Linked DNA regions of Homo sapiens: region 1 is linked to region 2. Evidence: promoter capture Hi-C in 16 types of primary human blood cells and fetal thymus (Javierre and others, 2016). All regions are on one chromosome and are shown on one strand. The core of a region is centred on a gene start or on the middle of the fragment in contact, and the rest is flanking DNA. Distances in the headings are between cores, read along the strand shown.

The links. The method cuts DNA at HindIII sites, captures the fragments that hold promoters and counts their contacts. A CHiCAGO score of 5 or more calls a contact.
Region 1: a fragment that was not itself captured here is called in contact with the fragment with the promoter of SGPL1 in region 2 in 1 of 17 cell types (M2 macrophages); the score reaches 5.6 in M2 macrophages.

Annotation. Positions count from the first base shown.
Region 1 is chr10:70,619,731-70,626,703 of GRCh38, reverse strand. No RefSeq gene overlaps it. Among named protein-coding and RNA genes, the nearest start is that of PRF1, 20 kb to the right of the region's middle. RefSeq lists an enhancer at 828-1,417. The HindIII fragment of the contact is 5,679 bases long and covers 445-6,123 here.
Region 2 is chr10:70,812,920-70,819,622 of GRCh38, reverse strand. SGPL1 (sphingosine-1-phosphate lyase 1) reads right to left here and starts at 3,675. Exons shown (of 15, transcript NM_003901.4): 1 at 3,497-3,675; 2 at 2,743-2,812. The coding sequence starts at 2,769. RefSeq lists silencers at 3,260-3,369, 3,450-3,539, 3,560-3,879. The HindIII fragment of the contact is 12,143 bases long and covers 1-6,703 here.

The DNA of each region.
Region 1 (6,973 bases), core at 2,035-4,534, 190 kb after region 2:
AGAGTCAGTGAAGGGAGATACGGGTGGGGCCGTTTTATAGAATTTGGGTAGGTAGTGGAAAATTACAGTCAAAGGGGGTTGTTCTTTGGTGGGCAGGGGCAGGGGACATAAGGTGCCCAGTGGAGGAGCTTCTGAGCCAGGAAAAGGAATTTCACAAGGTAGTGTCATCAGTTAAGGCAGGAACCGGCCATTTTCATTTCTTCTGTGATTCTTCACTTGCTTCAGGCCATCTGGATGTATATGTGCAGGCTTGGGCTCAGAGGCCTGACAGTTTTGTTTTATACATTTTGTGGGGGACAGAAGTTACAAGCAAAGACATAAATCAATACATAGAAGATGTACATTGGTTCAGCCCAGAAAGGCAGGACATTTTAAAGGAGGGACTTACAGGTATAGGTGGATTCAAAGATTTTCTGATTAGCAATTAGTTGAAAGACTTAAGCTTTGTCTAAAAATCTGAAGTCAGTAGAAAGAAATGCTTGAGTTAAGGGGGATTGTGGAAGCCAAGGTTCTTGTTATGCAGATGAAGCCTCCAGGTAGCAGGCTTCCTGAAAAGATGGCTTTGAAGGACTCTTTTAAAATATGTCAAATAATTATATTTTAGACTAAAATATTTTTATTTCCTTCAGGGTCTGCTATCTGTCATGTGATGTTATCCCAGAGTCAGGCTGGAATTTGCTACAAATAATCTGTTTTGTCAGCTTTATGATCTCTATTTTATGTTAATGCTGGTCAGTTGTTCCTAAACTCTTAAAAGGGAGGAGGTATAAAAAGGTGTGTCTGACCTCCCTTACTGTCATGGCCTAGAGTTGAGTTTTTCAGGTTTCCCTAGGATCCCCTTGGCCAAAAGGGTTCATTCAGTCTACTGGGGGACTTAGGATTTTTTTTCTTTGAGACAGAGTCTCACTCTGTCACCCAGGCTGGAGTGTAATGGTGCGATCTCGGCTTACTGCAGCCTCCACCTCCTGCGCTCAAGCGATCCTCCCACCTCAGCCCCACAAGTAGCTGGGACTACAGACACATGCCATCATGCCCAGTTGTTTTTTGTTTTTGTTTTTGTTTTTGTTTTTGGTAGAGACAGGGTTTCATGTTGCCCAGGCTGGTCTTAAACTCCTGAGCTCAGGTGATCCACCCATCTTGGCCTTCCAAAAGGCTAGGATTACAGGCATAAGCCACCATGCCCAGCTTTTAGGATTTTATTTTGGTTTACACCTTCATAGTTCTTAGTTAGGACAGATCCCTGGAACAAAAGAGTGACAAGAGAATAACAAACAGAAGTTTAATAACACATATACTTTATGCATATAAAACCATCCTTTCAGGGTTAACAAGAAATACATGCAGTGTTCTGGGCAGAAATATACTCATTATTAAGCATTAGGAGCACTAAGCAGGCTGCACTTTGGCCCACTTCTTTGTAATTTATCTTTTTTTTTATTTTTATCTATTTTTTTTTTTTTTTGAGACAGAGTTTCACTCCTGTTGCCCAGGCTGGAGTGCAATGGCGCGATCTCGGCTCACTGCAACCTCCGCCTCCCAGGTTCAAGCGATTCTCCTGCCTCAGCCTCCCCAGTAGCTGGGATTACAGGCATGTGCCACCACGCCCAGCTAATTTTGTATTTTTAGTAGAGACGGGGTTTCTCCATGTTGGTCAGGCTGGTCTCGAACTCCCGACCTTATGTGATCCGCCCGCCTCGGCCTCCCAAAGTGCTGGGATTACACGAGCCACTGAGCCCGGCACTTCTTTTAATTTAAAGTCACGTAGCACTAGATCCCCACCATCTGCATTCCCACTGTTCCTACAGATAGGATCTCTGACACCTAAGGCTTTTGTTTAAGAATTACTTAAGATGGCCGGGCGCGGTGGCTCATGCCTGTAATCCCAGCACTTTGGGAGGCCGAGGCGGGCAGATCACGAGGTCAGGAGATGGAGACCAGCCTGGTGAACACAGTGAAACCCCGTCTCTACTAAAAATACAAAAAATTAGCCGGGCGTGTTGGCAGGCACCTGTAGTTCCCAGCTACTCGGGAGGCTGAGGCAGGAGAATGGCGTGAACCCGGGAGGCGGAGCTTGCAGTGAGCCGAGATCACATCACTGCGCTCCAGCCTGGGTGACAAAGTGAGACTCCGTCTCAAAAAAAAAAAAAAAAAAAAAAAAGAATTACTTAAGATGTTTTCAGATCCTGAATTCCAGCTGAACAGCTGATGCCCATCAGCTTGAAGACTCCCACAGAGGAGCTGAATCAACATGAGAATGCAGTTTCTTCATCTCCCCATCCCAGGATTTCACGCTGCACTCTTTGACCAATCAACAATCTCCACACCTTGGCCACTCCAAACTCCTTAAAATCTCTAACCCCCAACTCCTCTGGGAGGCAGATTTGAAGTTTCCTCTTGCCTCCTTGCTGGGCAGCCCTATGATTAAAACTTTTTCTCTGATGCAACTCTCAGTGTTGATGTATTGACTTACCATGTATACTGCAACAGACTTGTTTATGGTCAAACATACATAAGATACCTAGAGTAAATGAGTAAATCTCAAAGAGATGGCTCTGAGTTCAGGCTTAGATATAATCTTCAGCTAAAACAAAAATACAAGGGTGTGAAGAAGGCCAGCTGTGGGGAGATGCCCAAGAAAATCTCAAGCCGGGTGCAGTGGCTCATGCCTGTAATCCCAGCAATTTGGGAGGCCAAGGCAGGCGGATCACTTGAGGCCAGGAGTTTGAGACCAGCCTGGGCAACATGGTGAAACCCCATCTCTACTAAAATTACAAAAATTAGCTGGGCATGGTGGTACATGCCTGTAATCCCAGCTGAGGCAGGAGACTTGCTTGAACCCAGTGGGTGGAAGTTGCAGTGAGCCTAGATCATGCCACTGCACTCCAGCTTAGGTAAACAAAGTGAGACCCTATCTCAAAAAAAAAAAAAAAAAAAAAAGAAAAGAAAAGAAAATAGGATAAGGTTTGTTAGGCAGATTTAAGTTGATACCTTCTCCACTGATAAGAGTTTCCAGTGATTTAACATCATTCTTCTCTTTCTGGTACTGAGCAGGAAACATCTTTACAAATGGAGATTTCCTTTATGGCTTTTAATTTCCCTTATAAAAGGGTAATTTTTACTGTGTTTTCAGAGCTTCTCCTATGTCTGCAGTTTCTCAAAATTTTAAGGGATCTCTAGGGTGTTGACTTTTCTGGCCAGAAACCTCTGTGGCCACAGCACTATTGCCCAAGTTCTTGTCCTGTATCCAAAAGAATGAGGTATGCAGACAAGTGAAGGGTGAAGAAGAGTTTTATTTAGTGTTAGAACAGCTTAGAGGAATGGGTAGCTCCTCTCTGTAGGCAGGTCATCCCATCCAGTGTTCAGCTCTCCACAAAAAGGAGGCCCTGGAGAGGATAACTCCTCTCTGCAGGCAGGTCATTTGGACATTTCTGCAGGTCTCTGCAGCTATCAGCAGAGAAAGTACTCCTCTTTGCAGGTGGTCCTCCCATCATCTCCGCCCTCTTCGTCCTGTGCCCCACTCTGGCTGAGCCCTGGGCTTTTATGGGCCTTGGAGGGAAGGAAGTACATGCCAGTTGGTCCCTGGGTGGCCATGGGAGGCCCAGAAGAGGCACCACAAGTCCCCCCACCAGTCTGCCAATCTGCAGGACTGGCAGCCCGGTCCCCAGCCTTCAGACCTTCCCTGGCCTGAAGGTGTGGCCTTACTGGGGACCTGCCTCCTTCCACCCAAAAATCAATTTGCCTCCCACTGCCATTCATGGCCCCTGGGCTTGGCCCCAACACCCCCTCCAAGATCAGAGGAGGCACCATGAGTGAAGAGAAGCCAGGCAGTGGGAAAAGACACCTCTGAGCTTGGAGGGATGGAGGAGTGTCCTTCCTAAGGCCACTGAGGGTGCAGGCTGCAGAGACACCAGCTCCTGCACCTGGGAGGGCGGTCACAGCCACACCCAGGAGGGCAGATCCTGCCTGCTCCCAGACCTCCTCAAAGAGCACAGCTGCAATTTGGACGGCTGTAGCCCCACCCAGGAGGGTGAGTCTCCTGTGTGCTCTGTAGAGCAGGAGGCCTGGGTCTGAAGCTGCTGGTTGGGCAGTTGCAGCAGCACCCAGAGAGCTCTCCTCCCAACTCCCACCAGCTTTATGGAGTGTGCAGCCAAAGCCGTGCCTCCCTGCTGCAGCCAGCATGATGGCAGCAGCCACTGCCATCAAAAATACTCAGCTCGGCCAGGCGTAGTGATTCACATTTGTAATCCCAGCACTTTGGGAGGCTGAGACAAGCAGATCACGAGGTCAGGAGATCGAGGCCATCCTGGCTAATATGGTGAAACCCCGTCTCTACTAAAAATACAAAAAAAAAAAAAAAATTAGCCAGCCATGGTGGCAGGTGCCTGTAGTCCCAGCTACTCAGGAGGCTGAGGCAGGAGAATGATGTGAACCTGGGAGGCGGAGCTTGCAGTGAGCGGAGATCGCACCACTGCACTCCAGCATGGGCAACAGAGTGAGACTCTGTCTCAAAAATAAATAAATAATAATAATCAGCTCAAAATCATTCTTATGCCAGAGGCATATTTTGGAGTGGCATATTCTGATCTGCTAAAACCATATTTTAGAGTAACATATTTTGTTTTTTTACAATATTAAATCTTTCTCCTTTTCTGAAATGTGCATTTATGACCATAAACTTCCCTCTAAACATAATATTAGTTGCATCCCATGTATTTTAGTGTATCATATTTTTATCATTCAGTTAAAAGTATTTTCTGACTTATTCTTTGATTTGGAACTTATTTTGAAGGATATTGGTGTTAGAAGAAAAGTTTTAGACAAATTAAATTTAACAGAGTTTAATTGAGCAAAGAACATTTCACAAATTGGGCAGTCCCTAGAACCAGAAGAGGTTCAAAGTGACTCTGGTGGTTGGAAAGGATTTATGGACAGAAAAGGGAAAGTGAAATACAGAAAACAGAAGTGAGACGCAGGAACAGCCAGATTAGTTGCTTGGCAGCCAATCCAAAAGGCAACTAAGCGTTTGCCTTATCTGAGCATGGTTTGAACCATTGGCTGCCTGTAAGTGGTTGAAATATGACTGCTGTGATTGGCTAAGACCTACTTGTTACAAGAGTAGGTTACAAGGCCTGGCATGGTCGCCCACACCTATAATCCTAGCACTTTGGGAGGCCAAGGCGGGTGGATCACCTGAGGTCAGGAGTTCAAGACCAGCCTGGACAACATGGTGAAACCCCATGTCTACTAAAAATACAAAAATTAGCTGGGCATGGTGGTGCGCACCTAATCCCAGCTACTTGCGAGGCCGAGGCACAAGAATCACTTGAACCTGGGAGGTGGAGGTTGCAGTGAGCCAAGATTGTGCCATTGCACTCCAGCCTAGGTGACACAGTGAGACTCTCTGTCAAAAAAATAAAATAAAATAAAAGAGTAGGTTATAGTCTGTTTACACATCCAGTTAGGTTACAGTTCATTACTTACTGAGAAACCTTTAGGCCAAACTTGAACTATGTAAGGAGGCAGCTTTAGGCTAAATGTAATTTAACCCTTGTATATTTTCAAACATTTTGATTTTTTGTTTGTTTGTTTTTTTGTTCTTGTTATTGATTTCTTGCTTAATCCACTGAGTAACATTCTCTGTAAATTTTTAATCCATTGAAATGTTTTGAGATATTTTATGGCCCAGTAAATTGCCAATTTAGGTAAATGTTCAGTACGCACTTGAAAAAAAGACATATTTCTTTTGTAAACCAAAAACAAAATCCTAAGCTACCCAACTGATTGAATGGACTCCCTCTGGGCCAAGGAAAACCTGAAAAAATGAATTCCAAATCATGATGGGAAGGGAAGTTGGAGAGGCCTCATTATGCCCCCTCCCTTTTGGAGTTTAGGCACAACTGGCCAGCATTAATATTAAAAGAGAGATCATAAGACCGACAAAACAGACTCTTTGTAGTAATAAAACACAAAATTCCAACCTAACTCTGGTATGGCATCACATGCTGTCTGCGGGCTGCCACCTATGAGACTTCATCTACGTAACAAGGGCCTTGGCTTCCACAACCCCCTTGTCTTAGCTCAAGGATTCCTTTCTACTGACTTCTTAAGCCTTTAGACAAAGCTTAACTCTTTCAACCAATTGCCAATCAGAAAATCTTTGAATCTACCTATATGACCTGGAAGCAGTCCCCTCCCCATAAGACATCCCACCTCTTTAGGCTGAACCAATGTACACCTTCCATGTATTGACTTATGTCTTTCCTTGCAACTCTTGTTCCCTAAAATGTATAAAACCAAACTGTAGCCCAACCACCTTGGGCACACTTTCTTAGGACCTCTTGAGAACGTATCCTGGGCCATGGTCACTCATATTGGCTCTGAATAAGCCTCTTTAAATATTTTACAAAGTTTAGCCTTTTCATCAACACTTTGGTGTATGGGTACAGTGTCCTATATATGTCAGTTGGGTCAAGCTTATCATTGCATTGTTCAATTTTTTTGTATCTTTACTGATTTTATTGTCCACCTGTTTTATCAGTTAAAAAGAGAGGTATGTTAACATATTTCACTACAGTATGTATTTATTCTGTTTCATTACTTCAGTTTTCTTCTTTAAGGTCTCTTTTATACATGGGTTGGATCTTCTCTATCTTCCATATCTATCACCTTTATATCTTTTTTTAAACCAGTCTCCACTTTTGATTTTTTTAATTTCCTCTGTTTCATCTTCTATTTCTCTTATGACATTATTTATGTTATTTATTCATTCTAGCTTCTTTTTATTTCTAAAATGGTTAGAGGTTTTTTTTAGAAAAGAAAAATGGTTTTTTCCTAACTAAATTCTGTGTGAGCTCTTTTCAAATTTTCCTTGTATCCAATTATCTCATCTCTTAATTTTTATAATCCTGACTTATGCTTTAGTTTCCTAAATTCTGTCATTTTAAAAACTCTTCTACTTCATTTAAAAATATCA
Region 2 (6,703 bases), core at 2,426-4,925:
ATCCCATGACTTCTAAGACTATTTCTAATTCTGAGATGCTGCACTGCACTGAGGTTATTTTTTTATTCACTTAGGTCCTTTCTTCCCAGGTGGAGGGCCAAGAACATGTTTTACATATCATATAAAGTAGCTTGAGAAACACCTCATAGAATGATGGGTTAGTGTGCCACTGAAAACCCAGCCATGGTTATTGGTTCTTTACCAGTTAGTTCCAAATAGCATTATACATTACAGTCAAGGAATGAATGACAACTTTTCCAGTGAAAGCACTTCATGCAACATGTATGTTGTCTTCAGAAAGTGATGACTGCCTAGGGCCACTCGCATCTATGTGGATTAATTCCTTACAGCAACAAGCAAAGCAACACTCCTAAACATTCTAAATTAACAGGTGAGGAGGTGAAAGGTGGTGGCAACAGCTAGAGAAATACCTCAAAAGAAAACTGATTCCAAAGTTAATATTCCGAGTAAAAGCAGTCATTGTTCTGTTAAAGTAAATGCATAGGCCCTATAAGTAATAACCATATCTCTGTGCATGGGGAAATATCTTACATATAAGAACCTATAATTTACATAAACATATCCTTCTGTAAGAGGATAAACAGAAACTGTCAATTGCTACAAGTCACTCTGCATTAACCATCCAAGATGCTCACAGCGGTTATTTCTGGGTGATAAATTACTGCACGGGGTAGAGGCGAATGAAGGGGATGTAGGAGATAGGGGAGATTAACAAATCCCCTTTCCTTTTGCTTACTTATAGTTTCCAGTATTTCTAACATAATGGTCTTTGAATAAGAATTTTAAGTTATATAAGGGTATTAATTAAAACTGAAAAATCCATGAAATTTGGGGCAAGATACTATTTTAGATGAACTTTTCATTGGGATCTGCGGATAACCTAAGTATTCATCTATGTCTCTCACATACAACCTAAAATTATCCTAGATCCCTGCCTCAAATCACAATGGATCAAAACTTAGTTTCTCTCTTCTTTAGCCCCCCTGCAGACCTTACAGGTTATGCCACTACGATGTCAGCACCCAGTATAAGGAAATCTCACTACCAGTTTTTGCCAGTTTCCCAGTGACGCCAACCCACCCTCTGGGATAGTGAGATAAAGAGAGAGAAATGAATTGTTTTTAAAGCACTGATTTTGCACTCAGAGAAGTGACAAAAACAAACAAACAAACAAACTTGGCTGGACACGGCGGCTCACGCCTGTAAGTAATCCCAGCACTTTGGGAGACCAAGGCAGGTGGATCACCTGAGGTTAGGAGTTTGAGACCAGCCTGGCTAACACGGCGAAACCCCATCTCTATTAAAAAACAAAAATTACCCAGGCATGGTGGTGTGCACCTATAATCCCAGCTACCCGGGAGGCTGAGGCAGGAGAATCGCTTGAACCCGGGAGGCAAAGGTTGCAATGAGCTGAGATTGTGCCATTGCACTCCAGCCTGGGAGACAAGAGCTAAACTCCATCTCAAAAACAAACAAACAAAACAAAACAAAACGAAACAAAAAAAACTAAACCCGGACACTTTTTCTATACCACCATTTCAAAGCTATAAACTCTCCATAATTCTCACACTAAGAAGTCCATAAGGAATCATAAAAGTCCCAAAAATAAAATGTCATTTTGGTAAACATGCATTTAGCAACGCTATTCTTCCCTGCTCAGTAAAACAGCACAGAAAGATCTCAGGAGGAGAGGAAACAGCTCTAAAGCAGGCATACCTCTCTGTCCAACAAAAGAACTTAAATTCATACTGGTTCAATCCAACAAGCATTTGTTAAGCACATACTATATTCAGAGCACCATGCTAGGTGTTTATTCATCTCTAAACAAAGAAGACATGATTATCTGCCTGTCGAGGAACCATAACTCTAATCTGGAAGACAAACACTCAGATAAACTAGTATATGGCAGACCCTGATAAAACGTAATAATAGAGGTTTCAAAACTGCTCTGGTAGTACGGGAAGGGAGGGATTAAAACTGCAAGAATTATGAAAAAGAAAGCCAGGAGAGGTGACCTGTGCTCCTAGTCCTAGCTACTCCAGAGGCTGAAGCAAGAGGATCACTTGAAGTGGGAGTTCCAGGCTACAGTGAGCTATGATTATGCCTGTAAATAGCCACTGCACTCCGGTCTGAGGAACATAGCAAGACCTTGTCTCATTTAAAAAAAATAATAATAATTTTGAAAAAGATTCTTCAATAATTTAAGTTCTACATATACTGTATTGATGTATTTAATTCAGCTATTTATTCATCCTGATCATTCATCCAAAATAAAAGGTGGTTGGCCAGGCGCGGTGGCTCACGCCTGGAATCCCAGCACTTCGGGAGGCCAAGGCGGGTGGATCACCACAGGTCAGGAGTTCAAGGCCAGCCTGGCCAACATGGAGAACCCCGTCTCTACTAAAAATACAAAAATTAGCCGGGCGTGGTGGCGTGCGCCTGTAATCCCAGCTACTCAGGAGGCTGAGGCAGGAGAATCGCTTGAACCCAGGAGGCAGAGGTGGCGGTGAGCCGAGATCATGCCACTGCACCCCAGTCTGGGCAACAGAGTGAGACTCCGTCTCCAAAAAAACAAAACAAAACAAAACAAAATAAAAGGTGGCAAAACGCTCAGCTACCAAAAGCAAGCATCAGAGGTGAAATCTACACACTGGGATCCTTTGGACTAAAAAAACGGAGACAAATGCCTTGGAACCAGGAGGATGTCTGCAAAAGGCTCACCAACATCAGAAGGTCTGTGCTAGGCATCTTCCTCTTCCAGCCTCCTCTCCGCGCTCCCCTTTTTCAGACTCTGTAAAAGGGAACCAGGTTTGTTTACTTCTAGAGCTTTAAACTGTCTCGCCAGCCCGCCTAGATTCGCCAGAGCAGCCAAGTTATGGTTCTCTCCCTCCTTTGAAGGCTCAGATTTCATTCCCAGATATCACAGTCCACCCCTAGCACCCCAGACCAGCGAATCAAAATCCTGCTGCAACTAGGTTTCCCTCCCACAGCTGATGAAACTAATCCAGACCCAGACTCCCACAAAGCATTCCACCCAGGTGGAAACTAGGGGAAACGCCCCGTCTGCGCGCGATCGGGGTGGGGAGCCCAGCCCAGGCCACCTAACCCGGGCTGAAGGTGCCGAGGCTACCAGGGTCCTGCCTCCTCCGCACTCCCTTCAGAATCAGCACGGCCTCGCTCTCGTTGTCACCCCTCCCGTCGGAGGACCAGCAAATCCTGGCCGCCCATGCCTACCCCGCGGCAGGCGTGGGCTCCAGACCCGCCCCACCGCGGCCCCGCGCCCGCCCGCCGTCCACTTGCTTGGACCTCAGCGGCTGGTGCCCACGCCTTCAGCCCGCCCCCGCCCCCGCCCCGGCCGCAGCCGCCCCGCCGCCTCTGCCCGCCCTCGGCCCACCCGGCCCCTGTCCTCTCCTCACCCCGCGGCGCCTCCGTCCCGACCCTCACCGCCCCCCGGAGCCCGCGGCGGCCCCTCCACCTCCTCACGCCGGAACCAGCTTCCAGTCTCCTTCCCTCGAGCACCCGGCCGGCTCCACCTCCTGCGTCTCCCTCAGCACGCGACGGACTCGCAGGCCGCGAGACCCAGGCTCCCCTGTTGCCGCCGCCGCCGCCGAGATTGGAGGCCCGGCAGCCGCCGGCCTCGCCCCTCCCGGAAATGGCTCCGGGGGCACCGGCCCGGCTCCCGGACCCTGGCGTGCGCGGCCCCGCTGCTACCAGCCGCGCGCACGCCCAGACCCGGGCCCCACGGCCTGTGCGCGCCGCCTACCGGCCAGGCAGCGGGCTGCACCCAGACCCTCCAGTGAATGTCTCAACCAGGCCGTCCTGGGGCGGCTGTGGTATCCCGACGGTCACCAACTTCTCTTCCAAACTGCCTTGGACAAAAAACTTTCTTGTCACATTTGGTCACTTGGAGCCTCCTGAGAGAGTAGGTCTGCAGGGCATTGTACAAACTAATCCAAAACAGCCACAGAGTTGGGTCTCTTTCCTGGGCCAGGGACTTCATTTTTCCATCGAGGTCAGTGGTGCCTGAAGAAAAGCAACAAGGAAACTTATTTAATGGAAATATCATCCTCATCCTCCCCTCCACCACTGCCCCCCCCCACCCCAAAAATAAAATGGAGAGCAGAGGCTACTCTGCCATCACTACTTTCATGAGCAGTGCTGGGAATCACCTTATACACAAGTGCAAGGGCCCACTGGGATCACAAAGGTCGCCTTCATTTCCAGATGAAAAAACTAAGTCTCAGCTGGGTGTAGTGGCTTACATCGGTAATCCCGGCACTTGGGGATGCTGAGGCGGGAGGGTTGTCTGAGCCCAGGAGCTCTAGATCAGCCTGAGCAACATAGTGAGACCCCCAACTCCAAAAAGAAAAAGAAAAAACTAAGTCTCACATAGGTTTCCCATGACTTGTCCAGGTTGTCATAACATTGCTTTAGTGGTAGCAGAAGGCAGTGCAGTTACATGGAACCAACTGGTCAGTGACCTGCATTCAAGATTTTTTTTCAATAGATTTTAAAATGACACCTAGATAGACTCTTGAAATCTCTCAAACAAAAATGACACTAATGAGGGTACCCAATTCCATCCCCTTGGAAAATGTTGCCATGACACTAAAATTAGGGCATCATCACTACCGTCATTATCCACATGTAGTGCTTTCAGGATGAAATGTACTATCACAGCTGCCCTCCTCTGCATACCCCATCGGCACTTCCCACTTCCCCAGCCATAATGGTTAAGGCCCTGAAAGACTATGAACAGGTTATCTTTAGGCCTCCTCACCCCCATTCCGTCAGAACTCCCAGACATTTCTACCATCCAGAGCCCCTGACTCAGGCATGAACACCCCCATACCCTTAGCCCCCTCACTACTATTCCCCAGCAGACATGCATTCTCAGTGTTTGAGGGTCAGAAAATGTTCTGGGGCCTCCTGCCAATGCCTACTCATCAAGAGTTGCTTTAGGGTTTCAGGTATGCCTTCCCATTCTCCATCTCCTACCCTTCTGCTTTAATTCTTCATCAGATCCCCCAGGAACTGCACACCTCCTCTCCATCTCCTTGTTAGTTACCACCCCCACATCCTTTAATCTAGAATCTGTGCACCCAGATGACTAGAGGGCAGGGTCACGTCTGATTCCTCCCTACACCCTAACACACAGTATGCAGTCTGCTCATTCTTCCCAGATGCTCAAACCAATGCAATCATATCGACTGATCCTTGCTTTGCCAAGAACTATGCTAGGCACCTTTACATACAAGCCTTATTTATGGCCTGACTTGCCCAGATCAGGTGACTCTTATCATCCCTCAACCTGTAAACAAGGACACCAAGACCAAAGAAGGAAATGATCCTCCCAAAGACACACAGGCAGGATGGGGTGGAGTTTGTGTGGGAGTTTGGAGGGGAAGCCAAGGGTTCAGAATTTGTAGCGGGGACCTCGAATATCCTTTTTGGTTAATTAGAATCAAAAAATGGTAGGGCTAGAGGGGTCTCCAGCTATTCGCCAGCTCCACCCCAGAGAATACACAAATACACGTGAAGAAACTGAGGTCCAGAGAGAGATGCGACTCCTAGCAGTTCCTGGCAGAGCCCAGCCTAGAACATGGGTCTGGGTTTGCAACTCTCTGAGCCGATGAAGCCCTGTGTGTGTGTGTGTGTGTGTGTGTGTGTGTGTGTGTGTGTGTGTGAGAGAGAGAGAGAGAGAGAAAGAGAGAGAGAAAGACTTCAGACCACCCTGCTCTCCTACCCCACACTCCCTCTGACAGCAGAATGACGTTAGCAGGCACATAGCTGGCTGGTCAGAGGCAGAGGAGGGCTATCTGGAACTTCCATTCTGAAAGTGTGGTTTCCCTGAGAGCAGCATTGGCTTTACCTGAGAGCTTGTTATAAATACAGGTTCTTGGGGCCCCACTCCAGACCTCCTGAATCAGAATCTACAGCTTAACAAGGTCCCCAGATGATCTTAATGCACAAGAAAGTAAAAAGCACTTCCCTAGACACTCTGTTTGCAGAGAAAGCACAATTTTTGTTTGCTTATTTAGAAACATGGTCTCAATAATGTTGCCCAGGCTGGAGTGTAGTGGCTATTTACAGCCATTATCATAGCTCACTACAGCCTCAAACTCCTGGGCTCGAGCGATCCTCCTGTCTCAGCCTCCTGAGTAGCTGTGTCTACAGACACATGGCACTTTGCCCGGATAGAAGGCACGATAGTTGTATTAAGCGTGTGGGTTGTTTGGGATGGCTTAAGGAGGCTGATGAAGAACGTGTTTGTTTGGGGCTGGGGAGGGAACCAATGCTCCCCAGTTGTCCTTTGGTACCATCATGGTGCCTTCCAGGATGACAAAAGATTGTCATTCAGGTGTCAGTGAGGCACTGAAATTCCCGCAGATGACGGAAGGCTTGGGACGGGGGAGGGAGGTGTGGAGCAAGATGGTCTGGGATTTTTTCCCTCTGTGGCTTCTTTAATTTAGGCTAGGAGGATCTCCCTGCAGTGCTTGTGCCTGCCATCATTTAAACAATTCATGCCAGCAAATCTGGTTCTGCTTAAAATGGCAGCCATCCATGGCCAAGTTAATGACAGCCTCCCACTCATGCATGAGTGCACACTCCCACTCTAAAAAGCAGGCGCACACACTCTCCTGCCTCCATTCTTGCTCCTGACACCCCTTGCTCAGCCGGG